Linked DNA regions of Homo sapiens: region 1 is linked to region 2. The links are contacts of gene promoters, found by promoter capture Hi-C in human tissues and cell types (Jung and others, 2019). All regions are on one chromosome and are shown on one strand. The core of a region is centred on a gene start or on the middle of the fragment in contact, and the rest is flanking DNA. Distances in the headings are between cores, read along the strand shown. Region 1 overlaps LOC124902693. Region 2 holds the start of CATSPER1 (cation channel sperm associated 1).

The links. The method cuts DNA at HindIII sites, captures the fragments that hold promoters and counts their contacts. A contact is called where the count stands out against the background at its distance.
Region 1: a contact is called between a fragment that was not itself captured here and the fragment with the promoter of CATSPER1 in region 2, in 1 of the 25 tissues and cell types used here (spleen).

What each region holds. Positions count from the first base shown.
Region 1 is chr11:65,806,428-65,809,770 of GRCh38, forward strand. All of the region lies in intron 3 of LOC124902693, which reads right to left. Among named protein-coding and RNA genes, the nearest start is that of OVOL1-AS1, 17 kb to the left of the region's middle. The HindIII fragment of the contact is 6,595 bases long and covers 1-3,343 here.
Region 2 is chr11:66,025,229-66,028,288 of GRCh38, forward strand. CATSPER1 (cation channel sperm associated 1) reads right to left here and starts at 1,251. Exons shown (of 12, transcript NM_053054.4): 1 at 1-1,251. The coding sequence starts at 1,151. The HindIII fragment of the contact is 11,043 bases long and covers 1-3,060 here.

The DNA of each region.
Region 1 (3,343 bases), core at 339-2,838, 220 kb before region 2:
ATTATGACTTTTATTTTCTTTTTTCTATATTTCGTACTTTTTTCTACAATATTCCCATATTGCTTTTGTAGTGAAATCTTCTTGATGATTTTGAAAGAGTCCTTCAGGAAGGCAATGTTGGAATAATTGGCTGCAAAAGGATGTTCTTCATTGAACAGTGAAAATTCTTGCCAATTTAGGCCGGCCGCGGTGGCTCACGCCTGTAATCCCAGCACTTTGGGAGGCCGAAGCGGGTGGATCACTTGAGGTCAGGAGTTTGAGACCAGCCTGGCCAACATGGCGAAACCCCATCTCTACTAAAAATACAAAAAAATTAGCAGGGCTTGCTGGCGGGCGCCTGTAATCCCAGCTACTCAGGAGGCTGAGGCAGGAGAATCGCTTGAACCTGGGAGGCAGAGGTTGCAGTGAGCCGAGATTGCGCCACCGCCCTCCAGCCTGGGTGACAGAGTGAGACCATGTCTCAAAAAAAAAAAAAAAAAAAAAACATTGCCCATTTGATGGTTATAGAAATGGGCTGGGATGGCAATGGGTGGGAGGAAGGCCGAGGGAATAAACTGCTCCAGATCCAGGAATCCTGATTTTTGATGTTACCATGAAATCTAAATGTGTAGAAAGCACAAAGAATCTGGAGTCCCCGGACACACAGTTTGAATCCTACAGCTGCTTTGAGGAAGATGCCTTAGCTTTCTGAGACTGACTGTTCATAAAGTGGAAGTAAGAGCAATGTAGGATGATGGTGAAGATTAAGATAATGAGTTGCTTTGTGAAGCAGAAAGCTCTAAACAAATGCTGGATGCAGCAGATAATAACATCCATGTCTGGTTTAGCTTCGGTAAGATGGGCGGTGGCTGCTGTAGTTGAATTTGCCCTGACTGCTGAGAACGCTGGGCACGTTGCAGCTGAGAGACAATTTTCCCATAGGGTACAGGCAAACTCTTGGATTTTCCGGTCCACAGTAATACAGAATATAAAAATAAACTAGCTGGGCACGGCGGCTCATGCCTGTAATCCCAGCAACTCGGGAGGCTGAGGCAGGAGGATCACATGAGCTCAGGAGTTTCAGACCAACATTGTGAGATCCCGTTTCTGCAAAATATTTAAAAATTAGCCAGATACAGTGGCAGGGCCTATAGTCCCAGCTACTTGGGAGGCTGAGGTGGGAGGATCACTCGAGCCCAGGAGTTTGAGGTTATAGTGAGCTATGATGACACCACAGCATTCCAGCCTGTGTGAACAGAACGAGACTCTGTCCCAGAATTTTTTTTTTTTTTTTTTTTTTTTTTTTTTGTGAGAGAGTCCTACACTGTTGCCCAGGCTGGAGTGCAGTGGCAGGATCTCGGTTCACTGCAACCTCTGCCTCCCAGGTTCAAGCAACTCTCCTGCCTCAGCCTCCCGAGTAGCTGGGATTACAGGCATGCGCAACCACGCCCGGGTAATTTTTTTTGTATTTTTTAGAGATGGGGTTTCACCATATTGGCCAGGCTGGTCTTGAACTCCTGACCTTGTGATCCGCCCACCTCAGCCTCTCAAAGTGCTGGGATTACAGGCGTGAGCCACTGCACCCGGCCTAAAAAAATTTATTTTAATTTAAAAAATTAAGTAAAAATAAACTTATTCTGAGTTCAGAGGAAGGTGTTTGGTGACCTGCTGACTACCCTTTCAGGAGTGAATATACGGCCCCTGATGAGAACCCCTGGTTAGTCGTGTGCTGAGCACTGGGAAGGAGAGAAAACGGCACAAAATGGAGACACCTGTGACCTCCTTCACCTATACCTGCTTACTGATGTTTTGGCGAAATGCTTGGGGGCTGAGTTGGGTGGACCGAGGATGCCAGAGCTTGTCATCTAAGGAGGCTGGGAGAGGCTGGGTGGTGGTTCCGGTTAGATGGGTCTCCACCCTGCACGAGATAGATGGGCAGGCTCATGAATCATGAGCCCCTCGTGTTCATAACTGATTAGCTAGTTTGTTGCGGCGCCACTCTTGACTTTCCCACAATATGGGCCCTGACATCCTCAGAGGGTACCACGTTCTTCAGTCCACCCAGATGAAATGGATTTACAAATCCAATGATGAGCTTTCTGAGTACTGACTGTGTTTGGAGACTCGTTCTTGACTGTGCCACTCCAAGTCCTTCAAATGAAAGACAATGTTCACCCTTTTTTTCCTTCCTTTTCTGCTCCTTCTAGGATACCCCTCGCCACGTTTTCTGTTTTACCTCCTTTTCTTTCAAGGAATCATTTTAATTGCTCTTCCTCTCCTTGTTCCTCAGTTTCCCTCACCTTCTCCTCATGTCCTCCTCTCTCTGCCTCTGGATCTAGCCAGCGTCTTCCTCTGTGCTCTTCATGTCACAGGCACCTGCCACCAGGAGCCACCGATGCCAGGCTGTCCTGAGCTAACGCACAGGGAGGACTGTATGACGAGGGAGTGCAGACGGCAAGACAGCCACTCAACAGCAGAATGGGGGCTGCCCTTGCCGCCCAGGCCACCCAGGCTGTGGCTCCTGAGCTGCGTGGTCCTCCCTTCATCACTCGCCCCCTCTCTGAATTCTCCCACAGCCTTTTACAATCTTTTCAAACAGCTTTTCTCCCCATACTCCTGCCAGCCCTCCTCCCCTGCCCTCCCTCCGAAGGAGCCCTTGGATTTATCCACACCTGCTGGTGCCAACATGCCCCAGACTGAACGCGCCACTCCAGGTGTGGTTTTGCCTGGTGAATGGAGAGGCACGGGGCGGCTCTGTGTCCAGAGGTGGGAGAGGCCGTCCAGGGCCAGCCTTGCACCTGGGTTCAGCCAGCGCAGCTGCCCCCAACCATGCCAGGCCGCTCTGTTGATCCCCGCTATCGAGCGGAGCGTCAGGACAGGAGCTTTTGCTGTCTCCTTCCTGCCTCAGAACCCCACCCACTATGTTTTTTCTCATCTGAATCTCAGTTCGAAATCTCCAGCCCAAGGGGTTTCCCAACACCTCCTAGTTTTGAATCAACCTGCTGATGCCAGCATTCCCAGATGAGGAATAGAGATGTGAGGTGGGACCTGGCCTGGCACTGCGTGGTGAAGACACTCCTGTACCCGCAACGGTCATCCAACTGGTGGCATCTGGACAAACAAACCCAGTCCCCTCCTTAGCTTCCATGAAGGAAAAAAACAAGTGGGTACAAGCTGAGGACACGGCTGGGAGTGGAACTGTAGGAACAAGGACTGGCCAGATGGCGACACCAAGGCGGCCATGCTCCTACCCTGAAGCCGCAGCTGCAGGTCTGGTCTGCACCAGGTGGTCCTCTCCGGCAACCAAAGAATTCTCTGCCCCCAACAGTGCCTCGGTGGAAACCATGCCCAGTCTCTCTCGGGG
Region 2 (3,060 bases), core at 1-2,500:
TGGGTATGGACTTTTTTGGACATCTGGGTGACACGTGAGCGGATTGTGCTGGAGGACCGAGTCATGCTGTGAGCCGAGCCCCGTGGGTGTGCTACGTGATAGGGGAAGACTCCTGTACGAGAAGCAGCAGGGCCGGGGGCATCGTGAATCAGGCTCCGGGATGTGTGTGGGATAGAGAGTTGGGAAGTGCTCTGGACGTAGTCGCCATGGAGGTAACTGGAATGATACGCGCCGTGGTGGTCTTGGTGCTGATGGTAGTCTCGGTGCCGGTGGGTCTGGTGGTAGTGGTGCTGTGTGTGGTGGGGATGGTCGCCATGGTGGTACTCACTGGGGTGGTGATCACCTTGGTGGTACTCGCTGTGATAGTCAGATATCCCACGCTGGTAGGACCCCACAGAGGAATGAGGGGAAATGGTCTCTCCGTGATGAGGAGACTTTCCATGCTGGTGGGCTTCATGATGACGGGACCTGCCATGGTGGTGGACTTGGTGATGGTGGGGCCAGCCACGGTGGGGGACTTGGTGATGCTGGGACTCATCGTGTTGGAGCCCGCTAAGGTGGGAAGCCTCGCTGTGGTGGAAGGACTCACTGTAGGGATTGGGTCCATGGGGGAGGTAGGACCCACCATGGTGGGAAGCCTCACCGTGGTGGGGCACGCCAGAGGAATAGTGGGATAAATTCTCACCGAGATATTGGGGTCTGCCATGGTGAGACCCCCTATGGTAATGGGAGTCACTCTGCTGATGGAACCCACCGTATTGGGACCCATCATGATGCCTCCTGCCATCACGTTGGAGCTCATCATGGTAGTCCTCACCGTAGGAACGGTGGGAGGGGACGGCGCCTTGAGAGGGAGCCAGACCAAAGCCTGTGGGGCCATGGGCTCTGCCGTGATTCCGTGCCTCGCTGTGGTGGTGAGATTGGTGGACATGGGAGGACAAGGCTTGGTCGTGGAAGTCTTGGAACTCCGGAGGGTGGTGAGATTCACCACGTTGGTGGGGCACGCCGTGATGGTGCAACTCGTAATGGTGGAGAGCTCTGCTGTGGCCTGGCCTGTGGTGTGGGGGTGATGAGTGAGAGCGAAAGAACCTATCTGCGTTATTGGTGTCTGCCTCATTCTGAGCCTTTTCAGGCACTGAGTTTTGATCCATGACTGTGCTGGGAACTCTGGAGCCAAAAGAGCTCAAGACCTGGGCCCAACAGGCCCCGCCTGGATTTCCCTTCTTTCCTGAGCCAAGCTCAATGCAGACTGTGGCACTGGGCTTCCAGAAAGGCCTGACTATTCTCGTGGAACTCTCCCCTCTATGATGTCACCAGCAGGCCAGGGCCTCATTCCCAAATGCCTCTTCCTGGGCTATAGTTCGGAATCAAGAATTATTGTGTCAAACTCCTTCATTGTAAATGAGGAAACCGAGGTCAAGAAAAGGGAAGGACTAGACCAAGGTGACCTCACAGGTCACTGGCAAAGCTGGACAAAGAAGTCCATGGGGGCGCCATGGCTTCATCAGCTACTTTAGCCCTGTTGTTGGAAAGAAAATGGTCCAAGTGGTCCAGTCTTCAGTCCCATCTAGAGATCAGCTGGCTCTGGGGTGAAGACTGCCTGACTCCCTCATAAGTAGGTGTGTGACCTTGGGCTTGTTGCTGAACTTTCCCGTGCCTCAGTTTCTTCCTCTGTAAAATGGGAATAATAATACCTAGCCCACAGGATCAAAAAAGTTAAGATATGTAAGCCTTATATTAACAGCATAATACATGGTTTTTGTTGTTGTTGTTGTTGTTTGTTTCTTTGTTTGTTTTTGAGATGGAGTCTCGCTCTGTCGCCCAGGCTGGAGTGCAGTGGCACGATCTTGACTCACTGCAACCTCCACCTCCCAGCTTCATGCCATTTTCCTGCCTCAGCCTCCCAAGTAGCTGGGACTACAGGCGCCCACCACCACGCCCGGCTAACTTTTTCTATTTTTAGTAGAGACGGGGTTTCACCATGTTAGCCAGAATGGTCTTGATCTCCTGACCTCGTGATCCGCCTGCCTTGCCCTTCCAAAGTGTTGGGATTACAGGTGTGAGCCACTGCGCCCAGCCCATGTTTTTTTGTTTTTGTTTTTGTTTTTTGAGACAGTCTCACTGTCACCCAGGCTGGAGTGCAGCGGCATGATCTCCACTCATGGCAATCTCTGCCTCCCAGGTTCAAGTGAGCCTCCTGCCTTAGCCCCCTGAGTAGCTGGGATTACAGCCACCCACCACCATACCCCACCCCGGCTAATTTTTTTTTTTTTTTTTTTGAGACAGAGTCTTACTCTGTCACTAGGCTGGAGTGCCGGGGTGCAATCTTGGCTCACTGCAATCTCTGCCTCCTGGGTTCAGGCAATTCTCCTGCCTCAGCTTTCCTAGTAGCTGCGACTACAGGTGCACACCACACCCAGCTAATTTTTGTATTTTTAGTAGAGACGGGGTTTCACCATGTTGACGAGGCTGCTCTTGAACTCCTGACCTCAAATGATCCACCCACCTCGCACTCCCTAAGTGCTGGGATTTCAGGTGTGAGCCACCATGCCTGGCCAATACATGTTAATTGGCATTATTATTCTCTTCTTGATCTTGGAACCCCCCTTTAGGGTTATTACCAAAATTAAACTATCAGCCATCATTTATTGAGGATTGCTTCATACACATTTTGTTTTCTTTCTTTCTTTTTTTTTTTTTGAGACACAGTCTTGCTCTGTCACCTAGGGTGGAGTGCAGTGGCATGGTCTCAGCTCACAGCAACCTCCACCTCCTGAATTCAAGCAATTCTCCTGCCTCAGTCTCCCAAGTAGCTGAAAGTACAGGCGTGCACCACTACGCCCAGCTAACTTCTTTTGTATTTTAGTAGAGATGGGGTTTCACCCTGTTGGTCAGGCTGGTCTCGAACTCCTGATCTCAAACGATCTGCCCGCCTCGACAACCCAAAGTGCTGGGATTACAGGCATGCGCCACCGTGCCCGGCCCATACACATTAAATTTAATCCTCACAATAGCCCCACATGGTAGATATTGTTTATCCCCATTTGACAGACAAAGGTG